Regions from separate parts of the Homo sapiens genome. Here region 2 is linked to region 1. Evidence: promoter capture Hi-C in human tissues and cell types (Jung and others, 2019). All regions are on one chromosome and are shown on one strand. Each heading gives the region's core, a stretch centred on a gene start or on the middle of the fragment in contact. The rest is flanking DNA. Distances are from core to core; before and after follow the strand shown.

Evidence for each region. Contacts are between HindIII fragments. The study calls those that stand out against the background at their distance.
Region 2: a fragment that was not itself captured here is called in contact with the fragment with the promoter of DDX59 in region 1 in 1 of the 25 tissues and cell types used here (mesendoderm cells).

What each region holds. Positions count from the first base shown.
Region 1 is chr1:200,668,657-200,672,194 of GRCh38, reverse strand. It overlaps DDX59 (DEAD-box helicase 59), which reads left to right and starts at 2,288. Exons shown (of 8, transcript NM_001031725.6): 1 at 2,288-2,428. It overlaps DDX59-AS1 (DDX59 antisense RNA 1), which reads right to left and starts at 2,688. Exons shown (of 3, transcript NR_110787.1): 1 at 2,573-2,688. RefSeq lists a silencer at 2,135-2,874. The HindIII fragment of the contact is 3,952 bases long and covers 1-2,623 here.
Region 2 is chr1:200,836,207-200,839,606 of GRCh38, reverse strand. All of the region lies in intron 6 of CAMSAP2 (calmodulin regulated spectrin associated protein family member 2), which reads right to left. Among named protein-coding and RNA genes, the nearest start is that of GPR25, 35 kb to the left of the region's middle. The HindIII fragment of the contact is 5,148 bases long and covers 1-3,400 here.

The DNA of each region.
Region 1 (3,538 bases), core at 1,039-3,538:
TGTGCCTGTAGTCCTAGCTACTCGGGATGCTGAGGTGGGAGCCTCACTTGAGCCCGGGAGGTGGTTGCAATGAGCCGAGATCGCACCACTGCACTCCAGCCTGGGTAACAGAGTGAGACCTTGTCTCAAAAAACAAACAACCTCAACTGGAACATTTTTCTGTGAGTATAAAAGAGAATATCATTGTCTTTGGAGACACATGCTACAACTTACTCCTAAATGGTTCAGAAAAAAATATATATCTATAGTATACATATTTTATATATATAATCTCTCCTACACACTAATATAGCAAATATAGCAAACTGTGAACTTATGTGAAGGGTATACAGGAGTTCATTAATTCTGAAACTTTTTGATAAGGTTGATTTTTTCAAAATAAGTCAAAAAATTTTTTTATTTGAAAACACACTATAAACAGGGAGAAGATATCTGCAACACCTACAATTAACAAAAGAATGTTTCATTATATATACATATATACATTATATATACATTTATATATGTACACACACACACATCCTTAGAAGAGGAAGAGAAAACATGAATGAATAACATATTTCAAAGTGCTCAGCCTTATCAGTAATTACGGAATGCAAATTAAGACAAAAACATGGTATTTATTCTGGGTAGACTAGCAAAAAGTAAGAAGTGTGAAAATAACGAGGATTTAGAGAGAATTGTGGTCGGTACTGGTGGCAGTATAGATTGGTACAACCACTTTGAAAACATTTCTGCTTTATCTTTGAAAGCTGAACAGCCCCCATAGCCTCTGATGCCGCAGTGCTAATCCTAGGTTCAAATTAGAGTCCAGCGCATGCACAGAAGGTGAACAAGAATGCTCCTACTAGCCTTATTAGTAATTACTAGGGGCAGATTCAGGTTTTATGGGGTATGAGCTTATATAATTGGAAAAGAGGAGGCTTTTAAAGAAAAAGATTCAGAATGATGAATACAAATTAGGTTCAAAAGTGACTAATTTTTATAATGGCAAAAGAAATTACAACAATTAGAAATGTCACAAAACCCAGGAAAAGAGTTCTGTTATAGGTATGTGACCTACGAACTTGGGAAGTCTGATACATTTAGTCTGTGTGGTTCCCATCAATAAAGAAAATACTTAAAGTGCATTTATAATCCTATCCGCTACAGTATTGAATACATTCCTGACAGGAGAAAACTTCCTTTTGACTAGGCAGTAAGAAATAAATGTTCTGTTACTACACGTAACAACTTGGATGAACCAAAAAAACAAATGTTGAGTGATAAAAAGCGAATTCCAGGCTATATGTATTTTTATAAAGCTCAAAAAGAAGAAAAATACACCAATACACAGGAATGCATCCAAATATGATAAAACCACTAAAAATGGCAAAGAGGGACAAAACTGAAGATAGTGGTGGTGAGCTAAGAGGCCAGGAGTAGAATCCTGGAGATGCATAGATACATGCTAAATACTGATAACGTGGTGGAGTGATAGTTTCATTAGCATACTTTAAATTTTACATATTTGGTAAATATGCTCTTTTGAATGCATCGACTATTACACTGAAAATATTTTTAAATACTTAAGGCACCTGAATATAAGCTGGCTTCCCTCCTTCCTCTCCCGTGCTGTCTCCTCTCCCCCATCACTTCTCAACTACAAGCTGCTTGGGACACGTGGCTCCAGAGGTTGGCAAAACAGGGAAATGTCAGCCCACAAGGAACAAGAACCGTGACTTGTGTTATTTTCTTGTTGGTGTTGGGGTGGGGGGAGGGGTGCGGTGGTGCAGGAAATATTATCCAGCTTATCATATATGCCACATCAAGCTGACTCCGTTTAAATTTTGAGTGGCTCTACTAGCTAAAGCCAGAAAAGGGTTTTTGGGCCCAACGGGCAGAAGTGCCCCTCCCTTTTACACTCACACTTCCCACTTTCTAAGGGTGCCAGGCCCCCGCGCCGCCCTCCTGCTTCTTTCCGGACGGTCCAACTCTTTTCCACCAGTCCCAGCCCATTCGATTACGTAAATTCTTCCAAGAGGATTCCCAAACGTGCCCCTCCGTCCAGAACTCGCCCAGCCCGGACCAGTTCCGAGATTTACCACCAGCCCAGAGCTGGGCGGGGGCGTGGAAAACGCGAGGAGCCTTCCCGCCCCTCTCCTTCTCCCTCCCTCCCTCCCAAGCCACTGCCGGCTCCCAGCCGAGCTCCGCCCCCGCGGTGGCCCCGCCTCCCCGCCGCCCGGAAAGCGGGCTGCGGCCCCCTCCCAAAACCCGGGGAAGTGGATTCTACTCTACGCTCCGCTCCGCTCCGCTCCGCACCACCAACCCCGGGCCGCAGTCCTGACGAGCGGGTCAGGGCTTGTCGGGCGGAAGCCTGGCCTGGAGCCTGGAAGGGGGAGACGGCCCGAGCGGGAGCGGGAGCGGACGCGGCCTCAGTCCTGCGCGGGTGAGCGTGCCCCGGAAGCTTGGGCCCCTGGCCGCCCTGGTGCCCCTTCTCCGGGACCTGGGGCGCTAGGCCGCGGCGGCAGAACTGGTGCCCCTGCGCGGCCTTCCTCCCATCCTTACAGTTCCCCGTGTCCCAGGCCTCTACCCGGAACCGGAGCCCCGCCCGTCTCCTAGCAGCTCCGTGACGTGAAGCGCCTCGGGGTGCGGTGCCGCCGGGCGTGGGTGGGAGGCAACGCCCGAGGGGAGGGCCCGCCAGTGCACGGGGGTGCGGGGCGCGTTGGCGAGAATTGGAGGCCGCGCCGCCGCCAGCCGTCCGCCGTCCCGCCCAGCAGGAGCACGTTCCCTTTCGCCATTGGAAGACTGAGTTCCAAGCTTTTTCCTGCTCACCTAGAGCCGTCCCTGCCCCGCCCGCCACCCCCTGTACATTTTCGGAGATTTAGGATAGTAATTCTAGACCCTCGGTTGCATTTCTGTTGGAATTTTTCTGGAAGTTGGAATCTGGCAGTTTAAACAAAGAATTTTTTTAAGAAAAATATTTATTAGTATATTTGATAGTCCCCAGATTAGGTTAAAAGCCTTATTCCCAATAACTGTAATTTTGCAAAGACATGTTTTTGGTGTAAAAAGGTATAGATATGGGTTGATGAAAAGAATCAAACTCTGAAAAATATTTGAAGAGATTTATTTTGAGCCAGATTCAAGTGACCATGGCCAGTGACAGTCCTCAGGAGGTCCTGAGAACATGTGCCCAAGGAAATTGGGGTACAGCTTGGTTTTATCTATTTTAGGAAGGCGTGAGACATCAAATACATTTAAGAAATACATTGGTTTAGTTTAGAAAGGCGGGGCAACTCAATCGGTAAATGTAAACGTTATCTGGTTGAGGTTATCTAAAGACCTGGGATCCATAAAAAGGAATGTTCAGGCTAGAGATAAAGGATTGTGGAGACCAAGTTTTATTGTGCAGAGGAAGCTCTTAGATAGACTTTAGAGAGAGCAGGTTGTAAATTGTTTTATATTGGACTTAAAAGGGTGCCTGGCTCTTAGTTGATTATCTCCTGGATCTGGGAAGGAAGGAGGGAAAACAAGGGGAGATGGGAATTCTCACCAA
Region 2 (3,400 bases), core at 396-2,895, 170 kb before region 1:
TTTCCATTCCTGAGTTACTTCACTTAGAATAATGGTCTCCAATTCCATCCAAATTGCTGTGAATGCCATTATATTCTTAATCCTACTTTTCTCTCCTACATATGTATCCTTCCCCTGTCAACAGAATCCTTCCTATTTGGCTTTTAAACATGCTCAAATCCCTCCCATCAAAATAAATGAAACAAAACCTTTACTCAATAACTATTCTCTAGTTTCTCCTCATTCCCACCATCTTTTTACCTCTTCACAAACTTCTTTTAGGAGCAGGCCTCTACTGACATTTTCCATTTCATCACTTTTACTCTCTAATCTACTTCAGTCTTGGCACTGAGTCACATCATTCCCCTAACAGCAACTGCTCAAGTCACCAATGATGTACATATGTTGCTAAATCAAACAGATTTCCCATCTTACTTGACCTCTCAGCTGCATTTGATATTCCTGATCTCGCCCCTCTTTGAAACACTGCCATGCCTACGTCCATCAGCTACTAAATGATTCTCAAATGTACTGACTGCACTTATATATGCAGTGGCCTACCGAGCATTTTCTTTTGGATATCTCAAAGGCCTATGTCCAAAATTGAAATAGTGACCTTCCCTACAAATGTGATCTTACTGCAGTCCTTATCTCACTGAATGGCACCACTATCCCAGTGTGCAAACCAGAAACCTAGGAGTCATCCTTGACACCTTCTTTCTCCCATGTCCAATTCATCACCAAAGCATGCAGATTTTGCATCCTAAATATTTCTGGAATTCACCAACTTCTCTCCATCATAACTGCTCTGATTCAAACATTTTTGCCTTGTTTGGAACACAATAGCTTTTTCTTTGGCTTGCTAAGAAAACAAACTTTTCAAAATGCAACTCTCTTTCCATTGCTCTTGAGGTAAAGGGAATCTTACTATGGCTTACAAGAGGCTACTTGGTACAGTCCCTTTTTCTCTTCCCAGATTTATCTATTACTACATTCTCCAAGTTTCCTCATCTTACCCTCCAGATGATAAAGTCTAAAAAGACAAAGTTTATGCTCATCATTATATCTTCAGTGTTTAAAACAGTGTCTGGCACATGATAGGTGCTCAATAAATATTTATTAAATGAATGTACAAATGAATGAATCTACGTACTAAAAAAAACAGTCAGTAAAACATCAAAACATTGACACAATATTTCTGATTAGTAAGATTATTGTGATTTATATTTCTTCTTTATACTTATCTTTATGGTATACTTTCTAAAGCCAAAGTATAAAATTGGTTTTTAAGTACTGGTGCTAGGTTCCATTTTACTAGCCTAGTTAACTGAAAGCTGATTATATTTTGAAAAAATACTGCTTAAGTGCTCAATAATTATCTGTTGAACAGAAAATAAGTTAATATTTTAAGGACTTTGGTAAGATAGCCATCCTAATAACATTAATTGTACTATTTGGCCACAAGATGTCAGTAGAGTAAGAAATAATTTTCCCAGTAATTAAAACTTATGAAGATTATGTCTTTCTGAGTTCATGACGATTAAACAGCAATAAATCTGTCACCATATTTCAGGAATGATGCCAGATTAATTCATTTAAAAGCTTCTTCTTTCCTTCTTTTAGTTAAGATGGTCATAAGGCTACATACTCTTGTCCCAAAAGCTCCTTAAGCTGATAAACAACTTCAGCAAAGTCTCAGGATACAAAATTAATGTACAAAAATCACTAACATTCCTATACACCAACAACAGTTAAGCCAAGAGCCAAATCAGGAATGCAATCCCATTCACAACTGGCACAAAAAGAATAAAATACCTAGGAATACAGCTAACCAGGGAAGTGAAAGATCTCTACAAGGAGAACTACAATACACTGCTCAAAGAAATCAGAGATGATACAAACAAATGGAAAAACATTCCATGCTCATGGACAGGAAGAATCAATATTGTTAAAATAGCCATACTGCCCAAATCAATGTATAGATTCAATGCTATTCTTATTAAACTACCAATGATATTCTTCATAGAACTAAAAAAAACTATTTTAAAAATCATATTGAACCAAAAAAGAACCTGAATACCCAAGGCAATCTTAAGCAAAAAGAACAAAGCAGGAGGCATCATGTTACCTGACTGCAAACTATATTACAGGGCTACAGTAACCAAAACAGCATGGTACTGGTACAAAAATGGAACAGAACAGAGAGCCCAGAAATAAGGCCACATATCTACAACCATCTGATCTTTGAAAAAGCTGACCAAAGCAAACAATGGGGAAGGACTCCCTATTCAACAAATGGTGCTGGGATAACGGTCTAGCCATACTCAGAAGATGGAAAACAGACACTTTCCTTACACTATATAAAAAAATTAACTCAAGATGGATTAAAGAATTAAATATAAACCCAAAACTATAAAAACCCTGGAAGAAAATCTAGGCAGTACCATTCTGGACATAGGAATGGGCAAAGATTTCATGACAAAGGTGCCAAAAGAAGTTGCAACAAAAGCAAAAATTGACAAATAGGATCTAATTAAACTACAAAGCTTCTGCACAGCAAAAGAAACTATCAACAGTGTGAACAGAGAGCTTATAGAATGGGAGAAAATTTTTCGGACTATGCATCTGACCAAGGTCTCATATCCAGCATCTATAAGGGACTTAAACATATTTACAAGATAAAAATAATCTCATTAAGAAGTGGGCAAAGGACATGAACAGACACTTTTCAAAAGACATAGACATACACGCGGCCAACAAGCATATGAAAAAAAGCCCAATATCACTGATCATTAGAGAAATGCAAATCAAAACCACAATGAGATACCATCTCACACCGGTTAGAATGGCTCTTACTAAAAAGTCAAAAAATAATAGGTGTTGACAAAGTTGCAGAGAAAAAGGAACATTTACACACTGTTGGTAGGAGTGTAAACTAGTTCAACCAATGTGGAAAACAGTGTGGTAATTCCTCAAAGACCTAAAAACAGAAATACTACTGAACCCAGCAATCCCATTACTGGGTATATCCCAAAGGAACATAAATCATTCCACCAAAAAGACACATGCATGTGTATGTTCACTGCAGCACTATTAACAATAGCCAAGACATGGAATCATCCTAAATGCCCATTGACGCTAGACTGGATAAAGAAAATGGGGTACATATACACTATGGAATACTATGCAGCCATAAAAAAGAACAAGATCATGTCCTTTGTAGGAACACAGATGGAGCTGGAGGTCATTATCCTTAGCAAACTAATGCAGAAACAAAACCACACACCACATGCTCTCACTTATGTGACGAAAACACAGGGACAGAAAGAGAACAACAGAAACTGCAAACTATCCACGAGTGGAAGGTGAAAGGAGGGAGAGGATCAGGAGAAATAACTGATGGGTATTAAGGTTAATACCT